6 separate regions of the Homo sapiens genome follow, and regions 1, 3, 4, 5 and 6 are each linked to region 2. Evidence: promoter capture Hi-C in human tissues and cell types (Jung and others, 2019). All regions are on one chromosome and are shown on one strand. Each heading gives the region's core, a stretch centred on a gene start or on the middle of the fragment in contact. The rest is flanking DNA. Distances are from core to core; before and after follow the strand shown. Region 1 overlaps WDR19 (WD repeat domain 19). Region 2 holds the start of KLB (klotho beta). Region 3 overlaps WDR19 (WD repeat domain 19). Region 4 overlaps WDR19 (WD repeat domain 19). Region 5 overlaps WDR19 (WD repeat domain 19). Region 6 has its middle 27 kb from the start of WDR19.

Region 1 (4,856 bases), core at 400-2,899, 170 kb after region 2:
ATGACAGAGCTGGGCAGTAGGGCTCTGCCTCTGAACTCTTCACCTGGTTAACTCATCAGCTTTCAAAGTGAGGTTAAAGAGTAATCACCCCTCTCCATTATCAATCCATTACCTCAAATCCTTTCCAAGTCTAGCAGCACATGACAAGTGCCCACAGTTAAATGCAAAAGAGTTGAGATGATATATTTCCCCTCAGTCATCGCAGCCATATTCCTATTTCAGTGAGTACTAATCCAAGTTTTGAAAACTTCTCAGGGTGTCCCAATTATCTTAAATAATACTGTAAAATTACCTAAATTTTTCTTATAACAAAGTTAATTTAGTTCACTTAAAATTTAAAAATGAAAATTTGCTATAGAATGATTTGTAAAAGGAAAGTTGTAAAATTAATAACAAACGCTCCCAAAACAAGCTCTTTTACATAGTTGTAGAAATGCCAGTTTTAGGTGAAATAATATTAATGATTACAATAGCTAATTATGTGTCTTTACTATTGATCAGGCACTGTGCTAAAAGACCTCATTCTCATTTTTAAATCCTTACAAATATCCCGTGGGTTAGATATTATTCTTCCTACTTTAAAGAAATAGGATCTAGGGTTCAGAAAGGTTAAATAACATGTCCAAGCTTACACAGAGCTGGAATTTGAACCCAGACATGTCTGACTGTGAAGTCTATGCCCCTCATTGCTAGTCTATATTGCCAGGTTTCCCTTCTTCCCTGCCCTTGAACTAACCAGGCCCTTCATCCTGCTCTAGGCCCTCTCCTGCAATGCTCACCTCTGGGAAACCAGTGATGGTACACTAGTCCTTAGCTCACCTTTTAATACACAACAGAATTTCACACAATAAGGATAAATGTGCCTCGGTTTTCCCATCTGGAAAATAGAGAAAAAACCAATCCTATCTCATAGGATTGTTGGGAGGGTTAAATGAATTAATACATGATAAGTGCTTAGAAAAATGCCTGGCCCACATGAGCACTCAATATATGGTGATATTTTTCCTTGTATATGTTTTTGTAATTTACACAATCTGTTCTCTTTGGACACATTTAGATTTCAATTAGTAATGTTATAATACCATGCATTTTATACCTCCACAAAATGCAGAATAAACATTTTTGAATTATAATTTTAATGATTAACATTATAATTAATGAGTACTCAGGGGTTCTTAAACTGACATGTTTGAATTTTAGGAGGGGGAAGGCATATAGTGTCTGTGCTGAGAAATTTTAATTATATAGAAGGGGTGATCCTCCTTTGATATTCTTATGTTCTTTCCTTTTTTTTTTTTTTGAGACGGAGTCTCGCTCTGTCACCCAGGCTGGAGTGCAGTGGTACAATCTTGGCTCACTGCAATCTCTGCCTCCTAGGTTCAAGCAATTCTCCTGCTGGGGCAGGAGATTACAGTAGCTGGGATTACAGGCTCACTGCAACCTCCACCTCCCAGGTTCAAGCAGTTCTCCTGTCTCAGCCTCCTGAGTAGCTGGGATTACAGGCACATGCCACCACGTCCGGCTAATTTTTGTATTTTTAGCTGAGATGAGGTTTCATCATATTGGTCAGGCTGGTCTAGGACTTCTGACCTCAGGCGATCCATCCACCTTGGCCTCCCAAAGTGCTGGAATTAGAGGCGTGAGCGGCTGCACCCGGCCCCATTTTTTTTTCCCCCATTTCCCCACTGGATACCTCTTACACAATTTCCATTCTTACTTGCTGCCATACCTCCAGGGCAGCAATAGGACAGCTGGATGCAAGGTACAAGTCCTGAGCCAGGTTATAATCGTTGGTAAACATGGCAAGGTGTCCTGCCAAAAGATTGTAGTCCTCTATTCCCTACAAATAAAAGCAATTCTGATGAGAAAAAAAATGCAAGAGTTTAACTTTTTTTTTTTTTTAAGGACTTTGATCAGTAGGAAGTGGTAACGTTCTATCGATTCACTTGTTTAAGAGGTAAGATTAAATGCAAAAAATTTAGACTGCATTTAACTTAAAATAGCATTTAAATTTTAACTTGATAATTCTATAACATGCTGTTTACCTTTATTTGTTCCAAGGACATCACTATGCCAACATTTCCAATTCTCCGATAAACACGGATTGCAAACTCCACTTCCATGTGATGTAGACAAGCTCTGGCCAACTCATTCCAGGCAGCCTCATCATTCAGAATCCTGCACATTTCCCAAGCATCAGAAAACCTGGGATGTAAGAACATAAGCTTAATCAGAATGTTCCACTTGCCACATGTTAGGCAATTTTCAGACTACATGTCATCTAATAGCGTGCCCCAGATAAACTGTCTAAAACATTTCTTAACCTGTAATTGTCATTTACAAGTAATGAAAAAACACTTAAGCTTTCTTCCTTTTTTTACAGATAAATGTTTTTCCCTAAATTTCTTTTATTAATCTGAATCTACTCTGTAATAAGCCTACTCAATTAACTAAGCTAATCCTATTCATTTATTTCTTTTTATTTCACACATAGATGAATATTATTTTTGTTCTCATATAAGTCTAATAAAATTAGTATTCTATTCCTATAAATTTAGAAGTTTAAAACAGGGGTCAGCAAACTATGGCTTATGGGCCAAATCTAGTCAGGTGCTGTTTTGAAAATACAGCTTGAGTGGAACAAAGTCACTGATCAGCCCACTCTTTTTTTTTTTTTTTTTTTTTTGAAGACGGAGTCTCACTCTGTTGCCCAGGGTGGGTGGAGTGCAATGGCGTGATCTCACCTAACTGCAACCTCGGCCTCCTGGGTTCAAGTTATTCTCCTGCTTCAGCCTCCCGAATAGCTGGGACTACAGGCGCATGCCATGACACCCGGCTAATTTTTTGTATTTTTAGTAGAGACAGGGTTTCATCGTGTTAGCCAGGATGGTCTTGATCTGCTGACCTCATGATCCGCCCGCCTCGGCCTCCCAGAGTGCTGGGATTACAGGTGTGAGCCACCGTCCCCGGCCCAGCCCACTCTTTAATGGATTGTCTGTGGCCACTTTCCTGCTACAACAGCCAGACTGAGTAGCTGCGATAGAGACCCTATGGCCCGTAAAGCTTGAAATATTTGCCATTTGGACCTTAACACAAAAGGTTTTCCGACCTCTGGTTTAAAACATGAACATAAATGCCAATTAAACTTTTTGTGGAACCTCTACATGAGTGAATATATTACATCCATCTATCTATTCATTCATCCATTTATCTATTCACCTATCCATTTTTTCATCCAACACACATTTACTGAACTCGTTACATGCTTGGAAACATGATACAAAAATCAACCACAGTTGCTGTCCTTAAGGCAGTCACAATTGGGGAAGGTGGAAGAGACAGATAAGGAAACAAATGACTATAGCATAGTTTGACAGAGGTAACTGAGTACTTACAATAGGTAACTCTTTGTGCTAAGTCTTTTGCATAAATTCTCTTACCCTAATAACCCTACCCACTAAGTATTATTATTATGTCTCCTTTATAGATTAGGAAAATGAGGCTTAGAGACGTCAAAAGACTAGCCCAAGGCACACAGAGGTAAGTGGTGTCATGCTCTTCACCACTGTGTATACTGCATCCTGGCTCTGAGGCAACACATCAGAAAGACCCCAAGCAGGACTGCCTGTGGTGGTGGGGAAGTCGGGGAAGGCTTCCTGGAGCAGGAGATGGCTCCACTTATCGCTGATGGGTAAAGAAAGAGGGGTTACTACATTCAGAGCAGGGAAAGGGCATTCCAGGAAGAATCATGAAATATATGCAATTTCAGCAGCCAGTGGAACAGAGAGGGACTTGAGTGGAGACAGTTGAGCTGGTGTTAAATCATGAAGTGCCTAGTAGGTCATAGAGGTCCCCCAGGAATGGATTTGTTTGTAAAGGCAATAGAAAGTCACTGAAGGATCCTGAGCAGGGAAATAAGAGGATCAAATCACATCTTCAAAAGTGTGTGGAGAACAGATGAGATCGTTACAAGGCTATTGGCAGACAGAGCAGTTAGGAAGTGGTTAGTTACATTACACATTATTCCAGGTGAGGGCCTGGGTAAAGATGAGGGAACACGGGAGGAGGAAAGGAGCTGGTGTATATGTGTGTTAAGGCATGTGCATGTGTGATTACAGTGAGGGAAAATAGGGGCCTGTGGAAATTGATGAGTTCAGTTTTAGAAAGGGCAAGTTTGAAGAGCTCATGGACTTCCAAGGACACATGACTGGAAGGTAGTTGTAAGTACAGGTTTAAGATAAAGACACAGATTTTAGAGTCAGCTTCATATGGGTGGTATGTTGAGCCATGTTAAGCAGAGGAGATTCACTCAGGAAGAATAATTAGAGTAAGAAGAGAAGGAAACTCATGAGACCCCAATAAACAGCAGCATTTAAGAGAGGCTCGGAAGAATTAGAACGTCAAAGGAATTCACGGTGGCTCTAGGAGATAAGAGAAAAAAACAGTAAAAGGAAATTATAAGCAAAGCAAAATCAAACCTCACTATGATGAAGTCAAGATATTGTTGAAATAATTAGGTTTATTTTATTAGGATTTCCCAATAACTAGGCTCTCTGGAAGCTTAGAAACCGTTTTGTTCTTAAGGGCTTTTCTTGTAATAAAGTACTCATAATAAAAACAGCTGACTATCTTATCTGAGCCTCACAATATCCCTGTGAAATGAACAAGGTAAGTGCTGTTATCTCCATCTATTGAATAGGATTTGACATTTTATCAAAAAGACACCTGCACTCATATGTTTACTGCAGCACTATTCACAATAGCAAAGTCATGGAATCAACTTAAGTGTCCATCAACAGATGACTGGATTTTAAAAAGTGGTGTGTATATATAGATATACACACTATGGAATACTA
Region 2 (4,508 bases), core at 1,953-4,452:
TTTAGAATATTTTTCTTTATACAAAGGTTAAATAAACATATTCATGCATGTATTTGCATAGAAAACTTTAAAAAGAATGTATAAGAAACTATTAACAGTAGCGTCCTTGGCCTGGGATTGTCAGGTGAAGAGAGGGAGAGGGATTTAACTTTTTCACTTTAGATCCTTTGGTACAATGTGATATTTTTATTTTTTATTTATTATTTTTTTGAGACAGAGTTTCACTCTCGCCCAGGCTGGAGTGCAGTGGCGTGATCTCGGCTCACTGTAACCTCTGCCTCCCGGGTTCAAGGGATTCTCCTGCCTCAGCCTCCCGAGTAACTGGGACTATAGGCACGTGCCACGACGCCCAGTTAATTTTTGTGTTTTCAGTAGAGAGGGTTTCACTATGTTGGCGAGGCTGGTCTCAAACTCCTGATCTTGTGATCCACCTGCCTTGGCCTCCCAAAGTGCTGGGATTACAGGCATGAGGCACTGTGCCCGGCCCAATCTGATATTTTTAAATGTACATGAGCATGAATTGTTTTAAAAATTAAAAGGACTGGCTGAGCGCAGTGGCTCACACCTGTAATCCCAGCACTTTGGGAGGCTGAGGCAGGTGGATCATGAGGTCAGGAGTTGGAGACCAGCCTGGCCAACATAGTGAAACCCCTCTCTACTAAAAACACAAAAATTAACTGGGCTGGTGGCATGTGCCTGTAGTACCAGTTACTCAAGAGGCTGAGGCAGGAGAATTGCTTGAACCTGGGAGGTGGAGATTGCAGTGAGCCAAGACTGCGCCATTGCACTCCAGCCTGGGTGACAGAGTGAGACTTTGTCTCAAAAAAAAAAAAAAAGAAAATTAAAAGGACTAAATGAGAGGAATATTTTTCTAACTTTTGTATGCATAATCTTGATAACTGTTAAATACCTATACAATTTCTACCCTTTAAGGTCTTATTTTGTCAAATCACAGTATACCCACACATTAATATGTTCTATATACAACTCTAGTCAAAGATATGCAAATGACCTTGAAATCATAATGCAATCTGTTTACCTCAAGGGCAGATGTATCTGAAACCATAGTACAATGCACATGTGTAATAATCCAGAAAAGTTCAAAAAGAAAAGAAGTGATAGCAGATATTTTTGTATGTACAAATTTAGACATGGAATTATTTTATGTTGCTGTATTTTTTTTCTACTTCTGTATATTTAGCTTTTGATTATTAATAATTAAATTACTTTTTGTAGCACATTATAAAATTATATTGATAAAGTTTTTTCATTTTTAAAATGTAACAGGTGTGCAGAATAATTTATTTTTCCTAAGTAAACTATTTGACTCAAAAAGTTAAATTCGATTCTAGATATTAGCCTCAATGTGAGGCTAAATCTCTTGCAAATTCCTGAGTCTTCTTTTCAAAGCATTCTTAATGAAGACAGTTAGTGTTAATTATGTTGTCATTTAAAAAATCCATGTCCACAACAGCTGTATTTTACTCCTTAACCTTGGGAAAATTATTTAATCTCATTAAGCTTCAGTTTCCTCATCTTTTAAATGGGAAGAATAATAAAACTAGTTCAAAAGGCTGTTAAGAGGATCAACTGTAACGATGCATGTAAAATACTTAATGTAGTCTGTGGTACATAATAAGTACTCAGTAATTATTACCTATTATTTTGCTTGTATTTTCACTATTGTTTTACTAATTTTAACATTTCTCAACATTATCTCTAGCTTTTGAAATATATTGCTTGAAAATTGCTTTAGTAGAGCACATTCTTCCCAGTTCTTATGGGAAGAAATGTGTTTAGCTCCCATAACAATTAATCTTCTCTTTTTTGCTATGTAACACAAATAAAATCAAAAGTGAAGTATATTTAAATTTCTGTATTTAATATGCATGAGTTAGCTAACATTTATTTGGCTTACTTATTTACTTACTTTATTTACTTATTAGCTAAGTTAGCTATACTTAACAACAAATACATATTTGAAATGGTTGTGCCTTAAGATAATTCTGAAATGATTGCATGTTGTCAGAAAAGGGTTCCAACAATTAAATTTATGAAGCACTGTTTTCCCACAGAATGAAAGTAAGCTCATATATTCACACTGTAGTGTATAATGGTAGATTTAAAAATAGCCTCAAAGTGCAACTTTTGAAAAAACTAATTGGATTAATACATTAAAAATACCTTAGATAAATAAAACATACACTAACTTAAATGCAAAATTTGAGGATAGATCTTTTGAATTAGCTTAAAATCAGTTGCCTTGATTTCAGTGAAGAGAATTACTGAGGCAGAAGGTAAATTCTTAAATTCTTAGTGTTTTCTGAAGCTATAAGAAGAAGCTAGCTGTACAGTACCTTGATCAAGTTGTGTCCCACAGTGTAGACAGCTGCTAAATTTCCCTTCTCTCCAGGGGCATGCATACCTGTCCCATACCCATGCCAAGCCACTAGATATGGGTTGTGAATTGTAATCCAATATTTGACACGGTCCCCAAACATCTGGAAACAGTATGTGGCATAGTCATTGAAGATATCTATTATGGTATCATTTTTCCACCCCCCATATTTTTCTTGTAGTGCCAAAGGCAAATCCCAGTGGTATAAAGTAACTATAGGTTCAATGTTTCTAAGCACTAGAGCGTCCAGAAGAGTACTGTAGTACTGCAGACCTTTTGCGTTGGCAACTGTTACTATTCCATCGGGGAAAAGCCTTGGCCAGGAAATTGAAAATTGATAAAAAGAAACTCCTATAAAATCCAGGGCTGATAAGTCTTTTTCCAGAAAAATATAACTGTCACTGGAACCATTCGTGCTGCTGACATTTTTAAGGTGTGTGTGGATGAAATGATCCCATATAGAAGGTCCTTTTCCATCCTTCTTCCAACTCCCTTCCACTTGCAATGCTCCAGTCCCAATACCCCAGAAAAAGTTTTTAGGGAAAGTGTCATAGAGAAACAGCTGACTTTCATTTACCGGAGTAAAATTAGGATTTTTAGACCATATAGCTCTTCCATCTCCAGAGAATCCAGTAACAGCTCGTAGCAGAATAAGTGCTGACAGGATGACAGATCTTTGCAATCCCCCGTTGGACATTGTATTCCTATAGCGTGTGGTTATTTCATCAGTGCTGAAGAAAATCCATTCATTCCCTGGAGATCCTGCCGCACAGCCTGGCTTCATTTGCCACCAACTGCTGGACTGTCTTATCAAAGCTTCAGTAAAAGCTTGTGATTGTAAAGCTCTGTCAATGATTAGCTTGAACTGGGAGACTGAGGATGGGTCATAGAGAGCAACGTAATTTGAGGGAGGTGGCCCTATTGCAGTCACCAACGCGTCTCCTTCTCTCTCATTATGGAAAAAATTAGATGAAAATGCATCGGTGACAAGAGTTTGAATGTGTAACTAACACATATGTAAACACTGGATTAAAATCACATTATTTTCCGTGTAGCCTTTCATATTGACCCAAATCTTTTCTGAATGTTTTGAACATTATTGAATAAGGTATATAGCTTTTCTATTTTTAGAGTTTTTGTGTGGTAATTTTATAATCTCATATATCAAGAAAAATAACATATACAAGTATATAGCATTCCTACATACCAATAGTAAAGAATTAGAAAACACAATAAGAAATTACACTTCTCCACAAAATTATAACGCATCTAAGAACAATCTTAATAAATGTTACCTATTTTAGGAAAATTGCAAAAATGTATTGGTAGATTTGAGAGAAGACTTGAATGAGAAAATATAGCACTTTGTGGATGGAAAAATGAAATACTTTTCAATTTAATACATTTAACTTAACTAAAATCCTCTAATCTCTAATTTTATTTTTTATTTTATTTATTTAACTTAACTAAAATTCTCTAATCTCTAATTTTTTAATTAATTAATTAATTTTTAATAAGAGTCTTGCTTTGTAGCCTAGGCTGGAGTGCAGTGGTGTCATCACAGCTCACCGCAGCCTCAACTTCCCAGGCTTAAGCAATCCTCCCTCCTCAGCCTCCAAGTAGCTGGGACAACAGGCACATGCCACCATGCCCAGCTGATTTTTGATTTTTTGGTAGAGGTGGGGTCTAGCTATGTCCCCCAGGCTGGTCCTGAACTCCTGGGCTCAAACAGCCCTTCTGCCTCGGCCTCCTAAAGTGCTTGGGATTATAGGTGTGAGCCACCATGCCTGGCCTAATCCCAAATTTTAGTTCAAGAAAATTATTACGAAAGGCCAGGCACAGTGATTCATGGCTATAATCCCACCACTTTGGGAGGCCAAGGCAGGCAGATCACTTGGGGTCAGGAGTTTGAGACCAGCCTAGCCAACATGTTGAAACCCCGTCTCTATTAAAAATACAATTAGCTGGGCACGGTGGTGGGCACCTGTAATCCCAGCTACCTGGGAGGCTGAGGCAGGAGAATCTCTTGAACCTGGGACGTGGAGGTTGTAGTGAGCTGAGATCGCACCACCGCACTCCAGCCTGGGCAACAGAGCAAGACTCGGTCTCA
Region 3 (4,429 bases), core at 1,507-4,006, 200 kb after region 2:
TTTGTTTCATGAGCCAGGGTAGTCTATTGTGGTGAATGTTCCACAGGCACTTGAAAAAAATGTGAATTTTGTTGCTGCTGGGTGCAGTGTTCTATTAGGTTTAGTTGGTTTATAGTGCTGACCTAGTCTTTTATATCCTTGTTGACCTTCTGCGTAGTTGGTTCTATACATTACAGTTGTCCCTCAGTATCCCAAGAGGATTGGGTTCCAGGATCCCTCTGTGGATACCAAAATCCACAGATGCTCAAGTCCATTATATAAATGATGTTGTATTTGCATATAACCTATACACATCCTCCCATATACTTTCAGTCATCTTTAGGTCACTTACAGTACCTAATACAAGGTTAAATGCTGTGCCAAGTTCAAACATATCAATGTAAATGATGGCTAGAGTAGCTATCTTCTGGTTAGCATTTGTATGGTCTTTTTCTATCCTTTTACATGGTTATATCATTATATTTGAAGTGAATTTCTTACAATGACCCTTTTAATAGGGTCATTAAAAATACATTCTAGGCTGGGCGTGGTGGCTCACACCTGTAATCCCACCATTTTGGGAGGCTAAGGCGGGTGGATCACTTGAGGTCAGTTCGAAACCAGCCTGCCAACATGGTACAACCCCGTCTCTACTAAAAATACAAAAATTAGCCAGGCATGGTGGTGCACACCTGTAATCCCAGCTACTTGGGAGGCTGAGGTAGGAGAATCACTTGAACTTGGGAGGCGGAGGTTGCAGTGAGCCAAGATCATGCCACTGCACTCCAGCCTGGGCAACAGAGTGAGACTCTGTCTCAAAAAAAAAAAAAAAAAAAAATCCACTCAGTCTATGTCTAATAAGTTTTTCACTTACATTTAATGGGCTGACATGTTTGAATTGAAGTCTACTGCTTTATTATTTGCTTTCTATTTGTTCTCTCTTTTATTTGTTTTTATTCCTGTTTCTTTCCTTTGTTTAGATTTGAACATTTTTTAGTATTCCATTTTAATTTATCTATTGTGCTTTTGTATATTTCTTTGAATAGTTTTCTTAGAGGTTGCTCTAGATTATAATATACATATTTAAGTTTTCATAGTCTACTTAGAATCAATATTTTGCCATTTCAAGTGGAATGTAGAAGTCTTATCGCATACAAAAACTTTTACCCTCTCTCCCCTTTATAGTATAGTTGTCTTATATATTGCATTTTCATGCATTAAACACCCTACTGAGCAATATTATAATTTTTTTTTTAAACCATCACATATACGTTAAAGATCTCAAAAGAAAAATGTCTATTATATTTACCCGGATATTTACCATTTCTGTTGCTCTTCCTTCATTCTTAATGTCCCAAATTTCCTTCTGTTCTCAGTTCTCTTCTATCTGAAGAACTTCCTTCAGCAGTTCTTTTAGAGAGCAAGATAGTCTCTTCATTTTCCTTCATCTAAAAATGCTTTTATTTCACTTTCATTTACTGACATACATTGTCACCGGATAAAGAATTTCAGTTGACAATGCTTTTATTTTAGCACTTTAAGAATATTGTGGCATTTCCTTCTAGCCTCAATGCTTTACGGTGAGAAAATCCACTGTCATTCAAAATGTTGCTCTCTGGCTGCTTTCAAGATTTTTTCTTTGTCTTTATTTTTCAACAGTTTGATTATGATGTGAATAGCTCTAGATTTCTTCTGGTTTATCCTTTTGGGGACTTGCTGAGCTTCTACAATATGCACGTTTATGTCTTTTGCCATAAAGTTTCCAGCCATTATTTTTGGGATTCCGAAGACACAAATACTAGACCTTTTGTTACTGTCTAATAGGTCTCTGGGACAAATAATTTTGTTTCATTTTTTTCTTCCATGTTCAGATTGGATATTTTCTAATGATCTCTCTTCAAGTTCACTGACTCTTTATTTTCTCCATTTGCTACTAAGTCTATCAAATTTATTGCATTTTATAGTTCTAAAATTTCCATTTGGTTCTTCTTTATTGGTTCTATTTCTTTTCTGAGACTTTCTAGTTTTCCATTTGTTTCAAGAGCATTAGCCCTTACCTCTTGGAGCATTTCTATATCTGCTATCTGCATAATCTTGGCATTGGTGTTTTTTTATTGTTATTTCCTGAGCGAGTTAAAATTCTCCTAATTCTTCATATGTCAAGTAATTTGGGGTTCTATTCTGGACCTTGTGAAATTATGAGATTGTGTCTAATCTAAATCCCATGGAGAAGGTTAATATTTTTGTTTCAGCAGGCCATCAACCTGGCTGGGTTCAGGCCACAAGTTTCAAGGAGCCTTCTGTAGCTGACGGTTTCAATGTCAGTTCTATTTTCAACGCCTTTGCAGTGGTATTCAGATATGTCCCTCTATGGCCCACTCAGTGGCTAGTATAAGACCTTGGCTATGATCTATGTCTCAGTTCAGTTCACAGGGTCTTTGGTATATGTTTAGGATAAGTCTATACATATGCGCTTAAGGATGAACCCAGGAGTTCATAAATATCTTTACAGGGTTGCTTTCCTGAGTTCCTTCCTCCCTATGATCAATCTAGTACTTTCCAATCCCTAGGTCTCCTAATTTTGGTCCTCTATTAATGCTTGATCTCTAGTTACTCTGTTCTACCACATAATTCCCACACTGTATGAGCACTTGTGACCAAGGGAGGACAGAGAGAAAAATAGGCAATAGTGGTTTGCCCTATCTTCTTGAAGCCACAGCCTCTAATTGGAGAGAAGATTATCCTCCATCAGAGTTTTAGGTGCCTGTGGGTCCTTGGTGCCACTGTTCTTGTTGCCACTGCCATGGGGAGACTGCTTGGTGGCTGGAGCATTAGAGAACAAAGAACAAAAAAAGAAAAAGAAAACCAGGGGATTTCCCCAACTGCCTTTGAGCATTATAAGTTCTCTTTCCTGCAACTTAAGCCAGAACCAGAGAGTTTCCTTAAAGCTCTCTCTGTGCTTTGGTGCCTACTTCTAGGTTTCAGACTTCCTTGAGTCCTGGCTGTGAGACAGCAGAGGACAAGTGGGAGACTCCCCACTGGTTAGTTGGCACTTCAAATTCCGTCTTCTTTTCCAATCTGCCTGCTACCATTTACTTTTCAGAGTCCTTAAATATCTGCTCCATGCATTCTGTTCACGTTTTATAGCTGTACTCAGTGGGAGACATGGGGTGGAGTGTGCTTACTCCATGTTACCCAGAACTACCTATTTTATTTTTAAGATTGATTTTCAACTATACTTTGTTTTATATTTTTGCCCTGAATATTAAAATCAGGAGCAAAGTAGTCTTAGACGTTTTAAATTGTAAACATGATTGCCAGATTCATATTAGCTAACAAAGTTTGGCTGATTCACTTAAGTATTTACTATATAAGCTTTCCTAAAAATATGTGAAAATAACTTACCAGTTATCTCCACATGTAGCAACTTTGTTAAGAGTCTGTGATACTGCAATGCTGGTTAGATTATCTTTATGGTTACGAGCCTGAAATATCTCTTGACCAAGCTCTCCAGTATGAGTAGAAATGACCACAAAATGTCCACATGAAAAACCAATCATGATGCGGCCATCACCATACCTATAGCAAAGAAGGCAACAATATGGTAAACAAGGAGATTAGCTATCAGTGGCAACATGGTAAATTAGCAAGTACCTTAAAATTAAGGAATTATAGAATATAATTTATCAAGGGCCTACTTTGTGTCAGATAATATACTAGGTAGTTTTGCATACTAAATCACAGACCATGAATCAGAAAATGTGACGTATAGAATTGAATGTTACAAACAAAAATTGAATACAATTAGTAAGGAAAAACCTACAGATGTCCTTCTGTAATGAGCTTTTTGTACATACCAGTTATAGCAGACATACCAATTATAGCAGACAATGTTGCCAAAGTCCTGCTGAAATTCAAGATCAGCTGGGTTATCTGGTTCATTCAGATTTAAAAAAAACAAAGTTTTCTTGCCAAGCACCACACTTATCTGCCAGAAAAGATTAGGAGATTGTGAAATGAGTTACTTAGTACTTCATGAAAAGACCATTAAGCAAATCCAACAGCTGAACCTAATTTGTGAAAATAATAAGCCCAATTTAGATGTGCTAAATGCTGTAACTAGTACAATATGACTAAAAATGTATTTACTAATATATAAACTGGTAAGCGTCCTTGGTTTTACACATCTTCAATATACCCTTTGAAATATACTACAATTCCTTTGTGGAGTGTCCATTTAAATTTTCTATACCTTTCATTAGAGTACTGCACACTACAGGATTGTAAGTCTGACAGTTCCACTGCAAATGAATTCATATTTAGATTATAAAGACTCTTCCACTCTAAGAGGCTGTTCTGCTCTTGAGCCATTTGGGATTATAGGTCCACACTCCTGTGGATACTCCAGCTTGGCTTTTATATCATCATTGGTTCCATCACCTGCAGGTCA
Region 4 (4,994 bases), core at 17-2,516, 150 kb after region 2:
AACTGCTTTAGTGAAATGGTGGTAGTAATGTTAGGACAGAAATGTCATCTGTCAAGTTAAACATTGGCAATTCTAAAGTTGCCTATCTGTACTCCTTTTCTTTTTTTTAACTCTGTTTTCTCTAATTATCTTAATAACTTTGCAAGAAGTCATTTGGGAAGCCAAAGCATCCCAAGAAGCTTTTACCTAATTAATTTGTTTCCTTGAAGACTGAAATAAATATTTTCTTGTGAATCCTAACATCAATTCTTATGGTCATTTCGTGGATTTTAAAAAACAGAATAACACAAAAAGAACAAATATTTTATGATTCCACTTATACGAGGTACCATGAATAGTCAAATTCACAGATACAGAAAGTAAAATCATGGTTACCAGGGTCTGGGGGAAAGAGGGCAATGGGGAATTATTATTTAACGGGTACAGGGACAGTCTGGGATGATGAAAAAGTTCTAGAGATGGACAGTGGTGATGGCCGCATAACAACGTGAATGAATGTACCAAATTATACACTTTTAAATGGAAATTTTATATTATATATATTTTAGCACAATAAGAAAACAAAACAAAACACAAATAACATTATGTATGGTCCATGAAATGAAAATCTGAAAATTATTTCAGTAGTTTCTAAAAATAATTGCAAACATGAGAAGAAAACCTCTAAACAGGCATTCTCAGAATATCAAATTATCCTTTGGACTGTCCAAATCTTTGAAAAACACATCTTGTGTATATCACTGTTCACCAAAGTAAGCATTTTTCTTAATTTGTAACTCAATTTTTTAATGAAAATATTTACATTTTCAAAAATCATCTTGCATTTCCTATCACCTTCATTTTGAAATCTTTGATTTACTACTGGCTGATAAATAGCAGGATTTGGGAAATCTAGCCTCTCTTGGAATTCACACAGAAAAACCCTTAATTTTTGAAAATAGTCCTTTTTAATAATACCATCTCACCTTGAAGTAGCAGGGATCTTCAAATCCAACACATAACATAGATACATGTGTGTCTATGTATAAATGGTAAACATTTACACCAGGCGCATTCTTGTATGTATACCAATCTGATAATTAGATCATAAGAGACAAAGTGTTTTTATGATAAACATCTTGAAGAGAACCAGGGAAAAAATGATATTTACCAATAATATCTGCATAGATTTCCATTTTGTTGTGTTGCTGAGCCAGTGTGAAAGCTTCATTGTTGCATTTGGACATGACAAGAAACTGGATGGCAGACCCATAGTCACCAAGCTGTAGAAAAAACCTAAAGCAAAGTACTTTAATTAGCTAGACTCTTAATATAAATTTGTGATTTACAAAATTTTTCAACCAGGAGAAACCATTTAAAAATCAAAATTTTTAGATAAATTGCAGTTCTTTTTTTTTTTTTTGAGATGGAGTCACACTCTGTCACCCAGGCAGGAGTGCAGTGGTGCAATCTCAGCTCACTGCAGCCTCCGCCTCCTGGGTTCAAGCGACTTTCCTGCCTCAGCCTCCCAAGTAGCTGGAACTACAGGCATGCACCACCACACCCAGCTAATCTTTTGTATTTTCAGTAGAGATGGGGTTTCACCATGTTGGCCAGGCTGGTCTCAAACTCCTGACCTCAGGTGATCCACCTGCCTCAGCCTCCCAAAGTGCTGGGATTACAGGTGTGAGCCACCATGCCCAGCATGCAGTTCTATATTATATGCTTACACTTGAAAGACATACTCTTGTCTGCTGACCACGACAGCCTTTGAATTTAAACGCTTAGACCTGATAAAAAAATAAAGACTAAATATTCCTTTTGAATTAATATATTTGATGATAGAAGGCAGAGGCTTACTTTTATGGTTAGTTTTTGAAAGTCCAAAAATATTAATGTATTATGTTACCTGGCTACCATTTTGGCTCCATCCAGAGACTGGGTCTCTCTAACAATATTGACAGCTTTTTCAGGATTATTGAGGTGATCCAGATAGATGCGGATTACACTTTGCCACTGTTTTGCATTTTCATAAGCTACAACAGCTTCTTTGTATCTGTAAAAAAATAGCTCAGATAAACTTTTTTTAACACTGTCAATTTGGGGAGAAAATGTTGATAAATGTTTAGGACACTTTTAAATTTTATTGATGGTGACTGCTTATTTTTCCTGAACTTCTTTTTCCTTTATCAGAAAAATACCAGGAACCATCCCACTAAAATGTTCTGTTTAGGAATTTGATAAATGAACAGTAAAATATCAATATTAAATTGTATTTTCCCATCTGAATCAAAGCTATATATTTTTAAACATTTTACTGTTTTTTTCCTTTTAAGTAGGAAGATTATAATAGTAATATAGAAAATGTAGATTTTTTTCACAATTATAGATACAGCTTAATGTTGATATATAAAACCTTTATATATCCTTAGTCACAAAGCTCAAACTTTAGTGTTGACCTCTAGATAGAGCTCAGGACCCCTCTTCAGTTCCTGACCAGCTCTCAGCTCCATTTCAACAAGACATTCAGTGTATATCTCTATTTCCTAAGGTTACTTTTCTAAAAGTATTTAAAAGGGTATTAAATCTCCTTTAAAAGTTCCTTAATAGATATTTCTAAGTTAATTTCCAGAGGCTATAGAAAGTTACACTTCTTTAAAAAATTTTTTAATTTTTTTTTATTATTTTTTATTATTATACTTTAAGTTTTAGGGTACATGTGCACAACGTGCAGGTTTGTTATCTATGTATACATGTGCCATGTTGGTGTGCTGCACCCATTAACTCGTCATTTAGCATTAGGTATATCACCTAATGCTATCCCTCCCCCCTCCCCCCACCCCACAACAGGCCCTGGTGTGTGATGTTCCCCTTCCTGTGTCTATGTGTTCTCATTGTTCAACTCCCACCTATGAGTGAGAACATGAGGTATTTGGTTTTTTGTCCTTGCAATAGTTTGCTGAGAATGATGGTTTCCAGCTTCATCCATGTCCCTACAAAGGACATGAACTCATCATTTTTTATGGCTGCATAGTATTCCATGATGTATATGTGCCACATTTTCTTAATCCAGTCTATCATTGTTGGACATTTGGGTTGGTTCCAAGTCTTTGCTATTGTGAATAGTGCCACAATAAACATACGTGTGCATGTGTCTTCATAGCAGCATGATTTATAATCCTTTGCGTATATACCTAGTAATGGGATGGCTGGGTCAAATGGTGTTTCTAGTTCTAGATCCCTGAGGAATCACCACACCGACTTCCACAATGATTGAACTAGTTTACAGTCCCACCAACAGTGTAAAGGTGTTCCTATTTCTCCACATCGTCTCCAGCACCTGTTGTTTCCTGACTTTTTAATGATCGCCATTCTAACTGGTGTGAGATGGTATCTCATTGTGGTTTTGATTTGCATTTCTCTGATGGCCAGTGATGATGAGCATTTTTTCATGTGTTTTTTGGCTGCATAAATGTCTTCTTTTGAGAAGTGTCTGTTTATATCCTTCACCCACTTTTTGATGGGGTTGTTTTTTTCTTGTAAATTTGTTTGAGTTCTTTGTAGATTCTGGATATTAGCCCTTTGTCAGATGAGTAGGTTGCAAAAATTTTCTCCCATTCTGTAGGTTGCCTGTTCACTCTGATGTTGGTTTCTTTTGCTGTGCAGAAGCTCTTTAGTTTAATTAGATCCCATTTGTCAATTTTGGCTTTTGTTGCCATTGCTTTTGGTGTTTTAGACATGAAGTCCTTGCCCATGCCTATGTCCTGAATGGTATTGCCTAGGTTTTCTTCTAGGGTTTTTATGGTTTTAGGTCTAACATGTAAGTCTTTAATTCATCTTGAATTAATTTTTGTATAAGGTGTAAGGGGAAGGGATCCAGTTTCAGCTTTCTCCATATGGCTAGCCAGTTTTCCCAGCACCATTTATTAAATAGGGAATCCTTTCCCCATTGCTTGTTTTTGTCAGGTTTGTCAAAGATCAGATAGTTGTAGATATGCAGCATTATTTCTGAGGGCTCTGTTCTGTTCCATTGATCTATATCTCTGTTTTGGTACCAGTACCACGCTGTTTTGGTTACTGTAGCCTTGTAGTATAGTTTGAAGTCAGGTAGTGTGATGCCTCCAGCTTTGTTCTTTTGGCTTAGGATTGACTTGGCGATGCAAGCTCTTTTTTGGTTCCATATGAACTTTAAAGTAGTTTTTTCCAAGTCTGTGAAGAAAGTCATTGGTAGCTTGATGGGGATGGCATTGAATCTATAAATTACCTTCGGCAGTATGGCCATTTTTCACGATATTGATTCTTCCTACCCATGAGCATGGAATGTTCTTTCATTTCTTTGTATCCTCTTTTATTTCACTGAGCAGTGGTTTGTAGTTCTCCTTGAAGAGGTCCTTCACATCCCTTGTAAGTTGCATTCCTAGGTATTTTATTCTCTTTGAAGCAACTGTGAATGGGAGTTCACTCATGATTTGGCTCTCTGTTTGTCTGTTATTGGTGTATAAGAATGCTTGTGATTTTGGCACATTGATTTTGTATCCTGAGACTTTGCTCAAGTTGCTTATCAGCTTAAGGAGATTTCGGGCTGAGACGATGGGGTTTTCTAGATATACAATCATGTGATCTGCAAACAGGGACAATTTGACTTCCTCTTTTCCTAATTGAATGCCCTTTATTTCCTTCTCCTGCCTAATTGCCCTGGCCAGAACTTCCAACACTATGTTGAATAGGAGTGGTGAGAGAGGGCATCCCTGTCTTTTGACGGTTTTCAAAGGGAATGCTTCCAGTTTTTGTCCGTTCAGTATGATATTGGCTGTGGGTTGGTCATAGATAGCTCTTATTATTTTGAGATACGTCTCATCAATACCTAAATTATTGAGAGCTTTTAGCATGAAGCGTTGTTGAATTTTGTCAAAGGCCTTTTCTGCATCTGTTGAGATAGTCATGTGGTTTTTGTCTTTGGTTCTGTTTATATGCTGGATTACATTTATTGATTTTCGTATGTTGAACCAGCCTTG
Region 5 (5,095 bases), core at 2,052-4,551, 130 kb after region 2:
GTAGGCACTGTTTTTATTTAGAGATGGGATCTCGCTATGTTGCCCAGGCTGGTCTTGAACTCCTGGACTCAAGCAATCCTGCCTCAGCCTCCTGAGTAGCTGGGATAACAGCTGCATGCCACTGTGTCTACTTTACACAATGGTTGATTGGTTGGTTGGTTTTTTGAGCCTGTTGCCCAGGCTGGAGTACAGTGGCTTGATCACAGCTCACTTCAGCCTCAGCCTCCCAGACTCAAGTGATCCTCCTGCCTCAGCCTCCCAAGCAGCGGGGACTACAGGTGTATGCCACCATACCTGGCTAATTATTTTTTTGTAGGGACATGGTCTTACTATGTTGCCCAGGCTGGTCTCAAACTTCTGAGCTCAAGTGATCCTACCACTTTGGCCTCCCAAAGCACTGGGATTATAAGCATGCACCATTGTGCCCAGCCTGGCAATGGTTTTTGATACAATACCAAAAGCATAAGCAACCAAAGGGGGTGAAAATCAAACAGATAAATTGGACTTCATCAAAATAAAATACTTGTGCATCAAAGATGCTACCAAGGCTGAGCATGGTGGCTCATGCCTGTAGTCCCAGCACTTTGGGAGGCCAAGGTAGGAGGATTGTTTGAGCCTAGGAGTTCGAGACCAATCTGCGCAATGTGGCGAGACCCTGCCTCTATTAAAAAAAAAAAAAAAAAAAAAACAAGAAAAGGGAAAAAAACCCACAAAAAAATACTTCCAAATCATATACATGATATAGAACTTGTATCTAGAACATATAAAGAACTCTTAGAACTGAACAATAAAAAGACAAACACCCGGCTGGGTGTGGCGGCTCATGCCTGTAATCCCAGCACTTTGGGAGGCTGAGGCCGGCGAATCGCATGAAGTCAGGAGTTGGAAACCAGCCTGGCCAACATGGTGAAACCCCGTCTCCACTAAAAATACAAAAGTTAGCCGAGCGTGGTGGCACACGCCTGTAGTCCTAGCTACTCAGGGAGCCTGAGGCACGAGAATCACTAGAATCTGGGAGGCAGAGGTTGCAGTAAGCCGAGATCATGCCACTGTACTCTAGCCTGGGCAATAGAGCAAGACTGTCTCAAAAAAAAAAAAAAAAAAAAAGTAAGGCAGACAGCAGCTGTTGGCAGGGATGTGGAATGGAGAGACGAACGCTTGTGTGCTGATGGTGGGAATGTAAGAGGGTGCAACTTCTGTGGAAAACATTTTGGAGTGGCCAGGGAAGGGCAAGAAGGCCAGTGGGGCTGCAACATGGTGAGTAATCAGACCTGAGGCAGGAGGAGGAGGCTGGGCCTGTTCATGGACAGACTTGGAGGCTCTTTGTTTTTGCAGGTGCAATAAAAAGCCAAGAGAACCACGAACCAGATATACTGGAGATAGCCTGAGAGCCCTTGCTCATGGGGGCTGAGGGTGAGAGGTATCTAGATAATATGTAGGTTTCTGTCCTGTCCAACTGGTTGGCTGGAGCTGCCGCTTCCTGAGGAAGGGAAAACAGAGAGAGGTTGTGGAGGGACATCTCGACTCCTATCTAACCAGGCTAAGTGTGAGATGCTGTGTCAGAGATGAATTACTTTCACCTTTCCCTTTGGTAAAAGAATATCCTGAGTTTTGGCACGGCTTTTGGCTTCTCAATTAAAGACTACATTTCCCTGCCTTCCTCCGCAGTATGTGTGGCCACGAGTAAGTGCTTCCAATGGAATGAAGTAGAAGGAATATGTGTAGCTTCCACGTGACAAAAATGGGACTTGGAAAGAAAAAGAAATGGAGATTATTTCCAAATCTCTGGAAGCCAACATTTTTACAATATATTCTCCTGAATTATATCACAGACCCTAAAAAAAAATACTTTTATTAGCTGGCTCTAGTTTTAATGGAGTGATTAAAAAGACCCCTGTGAGATTTGACAAAATCTGGTCTAGTCAGAATCATACTGCTTGGCTAAACAACCTTTGTCATTATGGAGATGATAATACCTGCATTTTAGCATTAAAAAAAATACATCAAAAGGTGGTTGTCAGATTGTTCAAATCTGGCAAGTTCCATGGTGCACTGAAAGGAGTTGATGCTGATACACAGTGAAAAGCTGCGTGCACGCTGTGGGCCCTTGCGCCCAGAAGGTGCGTGGGCGCTCTGCCACTCACCTGCACGTGCCAATCACAGTTCCTCCTCCGTTCGCAGGTACTGGGTACAGTCTGAAATCTTTTTCAGCTGAGCAGCGTTTAATCTTTCTGAACACATAGGACATGTGCTTTCAGTGTTTAGCATGCTGTTTAGGGGAGGGAAAGGCAGAGTAAATTAAATATATAACATTCCTTTAGCTTTGGGTTACTCTAATGAGAAAGACAACAACTTTCTGTCTACACCTCTTAACACATGTCCACCATGCAATTTGAGAATCAGAACTATTCAGTCTCATGCAAGATCCTCTTTAAAGATAATATTCTCAAAGGTCACAGGAGGTTCTTCCCAGAAGACAATTTGAGTCTTTAGAGATCCTTAGGAACACAAATAGAAGAATGCTTCGGAAGAAAAGAGGTAGAATGAAAGGCCTGTGTCGGGAGAAATCAGTGAGACTGAGTGACGTGATGCACACTTACATCTTCAATTCTGAGTATAGAGCAGGGAAGTCACAATGTGGACACACCGTCCAGTCATCTTTCAACATGTGTCGACCCTGGAAACAGGATGTTTAAGAGTTAAATTCATCTTTATTTTAAAAACTCCCACTGTTAGTCAATTTTTTTTTTTTTTTTGACGGAATCTTGCCCAGTCACCCAGGCTGGAGTGCAGTGGCACATTGTTGGCTGTCTGCAACCTCCACCTCCTGGGTTCAAGCGATTCTTCTGCCTCAGACTCCTGAGCACCTGGGACTACAGGCGTGCGCCACCATGCTTGGCTAATTTTTGTGTTTTAAGTAGAGACAGCATTTCACCATGTTGGCCAGGCTGGTCTTCAACTCCTGACCTCAAATGATCCGCCTGCCTCGGCCTCCCAAAGTGCTAGGATTACAGGCATGAGCCACTGTACCCTGCCTGTTATTCAATTATAATAATTGAATTCCAGTTATAAGTCAGACCTCTAAATTATAAAATCATTGCTATTTCACATGTGTGGGTAACAGAGAGACAGCATTAAAAGGATTAAAGCTAGGTTTTACTTATCAGATTCATGTTTAAAGGAATAATATTCAGTTTTGTGATATTACCTGAATTTAGTTTTCTTTAAAATAAAGCTTAAATTAATCCAGTGAATTATAAATAACCTGATATGTTAAAGTTCTCTGATACTAGGTCTCAATATTATAATAAAAACTACTGCTTATTAAGTGCTGCAGCCTGCCAGGATGGCACCAAGGAATTGTGTAGCTCGTCAATCTGTGGTTGATTCAGTAGGCAGGTGTTACTACAGAGGACTGAGCCCGGGATAGTCTGATCCCCGAGTCTGTGCTATTTGGTCCTGCAGTGATAGTGCCTCCACTATTATTATTTGCTTTGAATATCACCTTTAACTGTATTGACTATGAAATAAAATGCTAGATGTTGCAGGAAATTTGAGGGATAAGATTATTTTAAAAGTGAAGAAAATATTGACATACATCAAGTATTCAAATGGGTTACAAATATATATGCAAAGAAAGGGAAATTACTATAAAGGAACTCACTGTTGCAATGCAATATGGGATACTGTTTTTACATCCAGGACAGAGGAGTTCACACTCTGGGAGAAGAAATTTGCAGAATGGACATGGAGTCGTGGCCTCTTCTATCTCAGATATATCGGGTCTCCTGTGAGGAAGAATCATGTCATTTAAAAATGCCGTTTTATTCATGTACCGGGGATGGCAAAGAGAAAGCATATTTGGAAAACCAGGGACATATGACACACCTACTTCATAGTCAGACTCTGGGCTTAGAGAGATACTTACAAGCTCACACCAGCCCTTGATCCACTCCAGGGAGGAGGAAGAGTACCTAGGATTGGTTAGGTTCTAGGGTGTTACATGGGCCACCTTTGGGAACTGGAGTTCATAGCACATTCAACGGCAGAAAGCATGGGTAGGTCTTGCGGTCTTCTCTCTTCCTGTGCTACTGGAGTGGTGAGCTTGGTATTTTCCCTCTGTCTCTCCCTTTTGTGTAACAGAAGTGGTACAAGTTATACCAGCACCGTCCAATAGAACTGTCTGTGACAATGGAAATGTTTGGATTCTGTGCTATCCAATATGGTAGCCATGAGCCACATTTGAACACTTGAAATACGGGTAGTGCGAAGAACTAAGTTTAACTTTTATTCCATTTTAACTAAATTTAAATAGCCACATGTGGCTAGCAGGTACCATATTGGACCACATAGCTATAAACCATTTGTGCATGGGGAGAGAATGACTAGCATCTCCTCCCAGCCAGAGCCCCAGCTAGCGTGGTTCTATGCTGTTGGGGTAAACATGATCTTGCATTTTCTAGTTACCTTCTCCCCATCCCACTCTCCATACTAGCAGGTATTCTGGGTCAGACCGATTTGGTCTGAAGCTACTTAGACTTAAAAAAAGGAGTATTCTATGTACTCCCATCCAGCTTAGAGCTCTCTGCCATGAGGGTAGCTCCCAAGCCCAGCTACCAGTGAAGTGTCATTTGCTTCCATTTGTCATTACCAATCCAGTCATCTCCCTGGGCTAAGGTCTGGATCCAAGATTCAGGTACCTGGGTCTCGTCATAATGTAATGAACAGGAACCCCACATGTCATCACTTCTGAAAAAGTGGTTGTTTAGAATTACTCTATGACTGCAATGACTTTTTTCTTTTCCAAATGCAAGGGCTACTTTTTCCTAGTTTTTCTTTAGAAAAACCTAGAAAAACCAGGCTACTGACTGCTTTCTGAAGCAAGGACGTGCCTAAGGGCTTTTGGGGCTGCACAGGATTTGGAAATGAGCTCTCTGCTGGCAGTGGGCCCTGTGAATATGAAGTTCCTCACACTGAGAGGAACTTCCACTGAACGTCCACTATTTTCTTCATCCCTCTTTGGCAGACATAGTTCGCTGCTTCTCTCCATCTCCTTGCCAACAGAACTTTGTTTCCACTTAGCAGCCTTAAGTCC
Region 6 (4,792 bases), core at 1,943-4,442, 250 kb after region 2:
GGCTAATATTAGTGACAGTTGCTTCTCTACCAATTATAGCTTGAGCTATGCTCTAGTGCCCTCCCTATAGATAAGATTTATTGAGGTAGCCAGTCACAGAATTGTCCTCATATTCTGCCAACACTCAGTATACGGTGAACCCCTGCTTCCTTGAACTCTCCCTCAAATCACAACCAGACATGACATATTCTAACAGCCTCTTAAAGAGGTGTGCCAAGCCTCATGGTGTGCCTCTCAGGTTCAAGTGATTCTTGTGCCTCAGCTTCCCACATAGCTGGGATCACAGCCTCATGGTGTGTGTGAATAATAAACACAACTTGTTCAACCACAGGTCTGTTCCTGACTACAAGACATTGGCAATGTCTAATATGATGTATAATACAAATCAATAGGTAGTAGGTCACTCACAGACATATATTTCTACCAATATGTAAGTGCTATTTGATTTTTTTGGTTTAAAAACAGAAGGTTTATAACTACCTGGCTAAGATCATTTTGTGGTAAGGAATTTATGGCCCTGTATTTTAAAAATCAAGTTCTATGGTACAATAAAAGTAAGTATTTTCTTTTGTAAACATTAATATTTTACTGTGTGGATGGTAAATGATGGACAGTTGTTGGCAACTGAATGAAAGAAAGATGCTCCATGTTTTCCTGAAAAAACACTTGGTTCTTGGAGGTGATTTAATATTCAGATTGCATATATATATATTTTTTCTTTTTGAGGCAGTCTTTCTCTGTTGCCCAGGCTGGAGTGCGGTGGCGTGATCTCGGCTCATTGCAGCCTCTAGCTCCCAGGCTCTCACCTCAGCCTCCCGAGTAGCTGGGACTACAGGTGTGCACCACCACACCTGGCCCCTTTCCCTTAGTGTAATGTCTTCTAGGCTCATCCATGTCATAGCATGTATCAGTACTGCAGTCCTTTTAATTGCCAAATGATATCTCATTGAATTGATACACCACATTTTCTTTTTCCATTTATCAGTTGATGGCTATTTGGGTTGTTTCCATTTTGGGGCTATTTTGAATATTACTGCAATTAACATTGGTGTACACATTTTTTTTTGTGGACATATGTTTTTATTTCTCTTGGGTAGATACCTAGGAGTGAAATTGCTGGGTCATGTGTTAACTCTATGTTTAATATTTTAAGGAACCGCCATACTGTTTTCCAAAGCAGCTGCACCATTGTACAATCACATCAGCACTGTATGAGGGGTCCACGTCTCCACATCTTTGCTAACACTTATCAGTTCCTTTTATTATAGCCATCTTAGTGAGTGTGAAGTGATTTTTCATTGTGGTTTTGACTTGCATTTTCTTATGACTAATGATGTCGAGTATCTTTTCATGCGCTTATTGACCATTTGTGTATATTCTCCAGAGAACTGACTTTTCATATCCTTTGTCCATTTTCAAAATTGGGTTATTTAAGTTTTTATTGTTGAGTTGTACATGTTCTTTATATATTCTGGATACAAATCCTTTCTTTATCAGATAGACGATTTGCAAATATTTTATCCCATTATGTGAGTTATCTTTTCAACTTTTTGATGTGTTTTGCAGCACAGAAGTTTTAAAATTTTTGGCTGGGTGAGGTGGCTCACGTCTGTAATGCCAGCACTTTGGGAGGCTGAGGTGGGCAGATCACCTGAAGTCAGGAGTTCGATACCAGCTAGGCTAACGTGGTGAAACCCCGTCTCTACTAAAAATACAAAAAAATTAGCCAAGTATGGTGGTGTGTGCCTATAGTCTCAGCTACTCTGGAGTCTGAGGCAGGAGAATTGCTTGAACCCAGGAGGCGGAGGTTGCAGTGAGCCGAGATCGCGCCATTGCACTCCAGCCTGGGCAATAAGAGTGAAACTCCGTTTCAAAAAAAAAAAAATGATTGCCTGATCCAAGTTCATTCAGAATTATGCCTCTGTTTTTTTCTGAGAGTTTTATAGTTTTCATTCTTACATTTAGATCTTTGATCCATTTGGAGTTAATTTTTGTATATGGTGTTTAATAGGGTCCAAGTCCATTCTTTTGCATGTGTATGGCATCACTTGTTGCAAAGACTATTCTTTCCCCATCATCTTAGCACTCTTGTCAAAAATGATCATAAATGTTAAGGATTATTTCTGGACTCTCAATTCCATTCCATTGATCAACATGTCTATCTTTATGACAGTACAGCACTGTCTCAATATCTATAGCTTTGTGATAAATTTTGAAATGAAAAAGTGTGAATCCTCCAACTTTTTTCTTTTTCTTCAACATTGTTTTGGCTATTCTGGGTCCCTTAAATTTTCATACTAATTTTTGGATTCAGCTTGTTGATTTCTGCAAAGAAGCCAACTGATATTTTGATTCAATCGTTTGGTTTTTAAATTTAAATTACCCACTTCTGTGGAGTCATTTGGAATTTATAAAAAGCTTTTATTTATGCTTCTTGAATAATTATCTCAGTTATCCTTTTCTCTAAGCATTGTTGTACATTTTGTAAATAAGGGCCTTAAAGGTTCAAAGAGGCTATGTAATTATTAGTTTTCTTTTTAACTCTAATACTTGTTCTTTATATTGTAGCTTCTTTCTTAATATGCCCTCAAATAGCCATTTAGAATAATAAAATCTAAATTATAAATGTGATACTACATTGGTGGGAAATGAGTCAATAGCTAAATTAAAAACCATTCTTATTAGGAACATTTTTTTTCAGTTGGAGGATATTTGACTGCTTAGAAAAATTGTGAACAATTTGTGTTAATCCCTTACATCTAGTTAATTGTCTCAGCCAGGGTTCAGATGACATGAAGTCACCCAGTGAGTAAGGAAGGTAGATAATGACAAGTTATTATTTGTAGTACACTGAATGAAGAATATTTTATTTAAAGGGTCCTAATTATTCTTTTTCTAGAATGATTTGAATATGGAACCGTACACCTATTAAAAATCACACTTATGAGGACCACAATGATACAATTTTTTATTTGTTTTTGAGACAGGGTCTTACTCTGTTGCCCGGGCTGGAGTGTGATGGTGCAATGGTGGGCTCAAGTGATCCTCCCATCTCAGCCCCCAAGTAGCTGGGACTACAGGCATGCAGCACCATGTCTGACTAATTTTTAAATTTTTTTGTGGAGATGAGGTCTCACTATGTGGCCCGGGCTAGTCTTGAACTCCTGAGCTCAAGAGAGCCTCCTGCCTTGGCGCCCGAAAGCGTTGGGATTACAGGTGTATTAGTCTGTTTCACACTACTATAAAGAACTACCTGAGACTGGGTAATTTATGAAGAAGAGATTTAATTGACTCACAGTTCTGCAAGACTGGGAGGCCTCATGAAAGTTACAATCATAGCGGAAGCAAAGGGGAAGCAAGCACCTTCTTCACATGGTGGCAGAAGAGGGAGAGAGAGTGAAGGGGGAAGTGCCACACACTTTTAAACCATCAGATCTCTTGAGAACTCACTCACTATCATGAGAAGAGTAAGAGGGAAATCCACCCCATAAGCCAGTCACCTCCATTCAGGTCCCTCCTCTAATTCCACATGAGATTTGGGTAGGAACACAAATCCCAACTATATTAACAGGTATGAGCCACCTTGTCTGGCCCACACTGGTATAATTAATACAAAATAAAGTTACATCTTTTTATTGTTTTTTTTTGCATTATGTAGATATGGTCAAAGAAAATGTCATTAACGTTTGTGAGAGCTTTAAGTTCCACCTGAACTCATTTTTTAAATATTAAGAAAATATTTATTGAGGCCATGTATAGTGGCTCACGCCTGTAATCCCAACACTTTGGGAGACTGTGGTGGGCAGGTCACTTGAGGCCAGGAGTTCGAGACCAGCCTGGTCAACATGGTGAAACCTCATCTCTAATAAAAATACAAAAATTAGCTTGGTGTGGTGGCACTGTACACTGTACAGGTGATGCCTGTAATCCCAGCTACTCAGGAGGCTGAGGCAGAGAATCGCCTGAACCTGGGAGGCAGAGGCTACAGTGAACTGAGGTCATGCCACTGCACTCCAGCCTGGGCAACAGAGTAAGACTCCGTCTCAAAAAAAAAAAAAAAGAGAAAATATTTATTGAGGTAAAATGCATATAACATAAAATTAACCATTTTAATGTGAACAAATGCTGGACTTTTATCATGTAAAATTTCAGGGACACAGAACAATAAAGAAAATAAATATCATAAATGCTCTTATGCCCATCACCCAGATTCGGAATAGTCTTAGCATTGTGCCTTATTTGATGAGGACTTTAATACTTTTTTTCTGGAGATGGAGTTTTGCTCTTGTTGCCCAGGCTGGAGTGCAATGGCGCAATCTCTGCTCATTGCAACCTCCGCCTCCCAGGTTCAAGCGATTCTCCTGCCTCAGCCTCCCGAGTAGCTGGGATTACAGTCATGCGCCACCATGCCTGGATAATTTTGTATTTTTTTTAGTAGAGATGGGGTTTCACCATCTTGGCCAGGCTGGTCTCGAACTCCTGACCTCAGGTGATCCGCCCACCTCGGCCTCCCAAAGTGCTGGGATTACAGGCGTGAGCCACCATGCCCAGCCTAATACATTTTTAAAAACAAAACCTTATAGATAAGTTTAAGGCTGCATGCCTGTTTTTCCTGATTCTATTTCTCAAAGGCAGCCACTATCCCAAATTTGGTTTATTATTGCTATGAATATTTTCATACTTTTGCTATATATATATGTATCTGGAAACACTACATAGAATATATGGAAGGAATATATAGACTGTATAGAATTTTTTGACAAATTTTTATATATACATGGTTTTATATTGA

What was found. The method cuts DNA at HindIII sites, captures the fragments that hold promoters and counts their contacts. A contact is called where the count stands out against the background at its distance.
Region 1: a contact is called between a fragment that was not itself captured here and the fragment with the promoter of KLB in region 2, in 5 of the 25 tissues and cell types used here (liver, lymphoblastoid cells, mesenchymal stem cells and 2 more).
Region 3: a fragment that was not itself captured here is called in contact with the fragment with the promoter of KLB in region 2 in 7 of the 25 tissues and cell types used here (H1 embryonic stem cells, aorta, liver and 4 more).
Region 4: a contact is called between a fragment that was not itself captured here and the fragment with the promoter of KLB in region 2, in 3 of the 25 tissues and cell types used here (adrenal gland, lymphoblastoid cells and mesenchymal stem cells).
Region 5: a contact is called between a fragment that was not itself captured here and the fragment with the promoter of KLB in region 2, in 2 of the 25 tissues and cell types used here (IMR-90 fibroblasts and lymphoblastoid cells).
Region 6: a fragment that was not itself captured here is called in contact with the fragment with the promoter of KLB in region 2 in 1 of the 25 tissues and cell types used here (lymphoblastoid cells).

Annotation. Positions count from the first base shown.
Region 1 is chr4:39,229,146-39,234,001 of GRCh38, reverse strand. It overlaps WDR19 (WD repeat domain 19), which reads right to left. Exons shown (of 37, transcript NM_025132.4): 18 at 2,046-2,205; 19 at 1,730-1,840. Among named protein-coding and RNA genes, the nearest start is that of WDR19, 49 kb to the right of the region's middle. The HindIII fragment of the contact is 4,326 bases long and covers 1-3,812 here.
Region 2 is chr4:39,405,624-39,410,131 of GRCh38, reverse strand. It overlaps KLB (klotho beta), which reads right to left and starts at 3,202. Exons shown (of 5, transcript NM_175737.4): 1 at 2,358-3,202. The coding sequence starts at 3,182. The HindIII fragment of the contact is 19,436 bases long and covers 2,369-4,508 here.
Region 3 is chr4:39,204,692-39,209,120 of GRCh38, reverse strand. It overlaps WDR19 (WD repeat domain 19), which reads right to left. Exons shown (of 37, transcript NM_025132.4): 8 at 3,855-3,967; 9 at 3,385-3,558. Among named protein-coding and RNA genes, the nearest start is that of WDR19, 24 kb to the right of the region's middle. The HindIII fragment of the contact is 8,963 bases long and covers 1-4,429 here.
Region 4 is chr4:39,250,187-39,255,180 of GRCh38, reverse strand. WDR19 (WD repeat domain 19) reads right to left here. Exons shown (of 37, transcript NM_025132.4): 25 at 1,889-2,035; 26 at 1,151-1,275. Among named protein-coding and RNA genes, the nearest start is that of WDR19, 70 kb to the right of the region's middle. The HindIII fragment of the contact is 3,716 bases long and covers 1-3,124 here.
Region 5 is chr4:39,275,713-39,280,807 of GRCh38, reverse strand. It overlaps WDR19 (WD repeat domain 19), which reads right to left. Exons shown (of 37, transcript NM_025132.4): 34 at 3,665-3,788; 35 at 2,601-2,677; 36 at 2,145-2,269. The coding sequence ends at 2,158. Among named protein-coding and RNA genes, the nearest start is that of RFC1, 88 kb to the left of the region's middle. The HindIII fragment of the contact is 8,469 bases long and covers 1-5,095 here.
Region 6 is chr4:39,152,801-39,157,592 of GRCh38, reverse strand. No RefSeq gene overlaps it. Among named protein-coding and RNA genes, the nearest start is that of WDR19, 27 kb to the left of the region's middle. The HindIII fragment of the contact is 6,621 bases long and covers 1-4,792 here.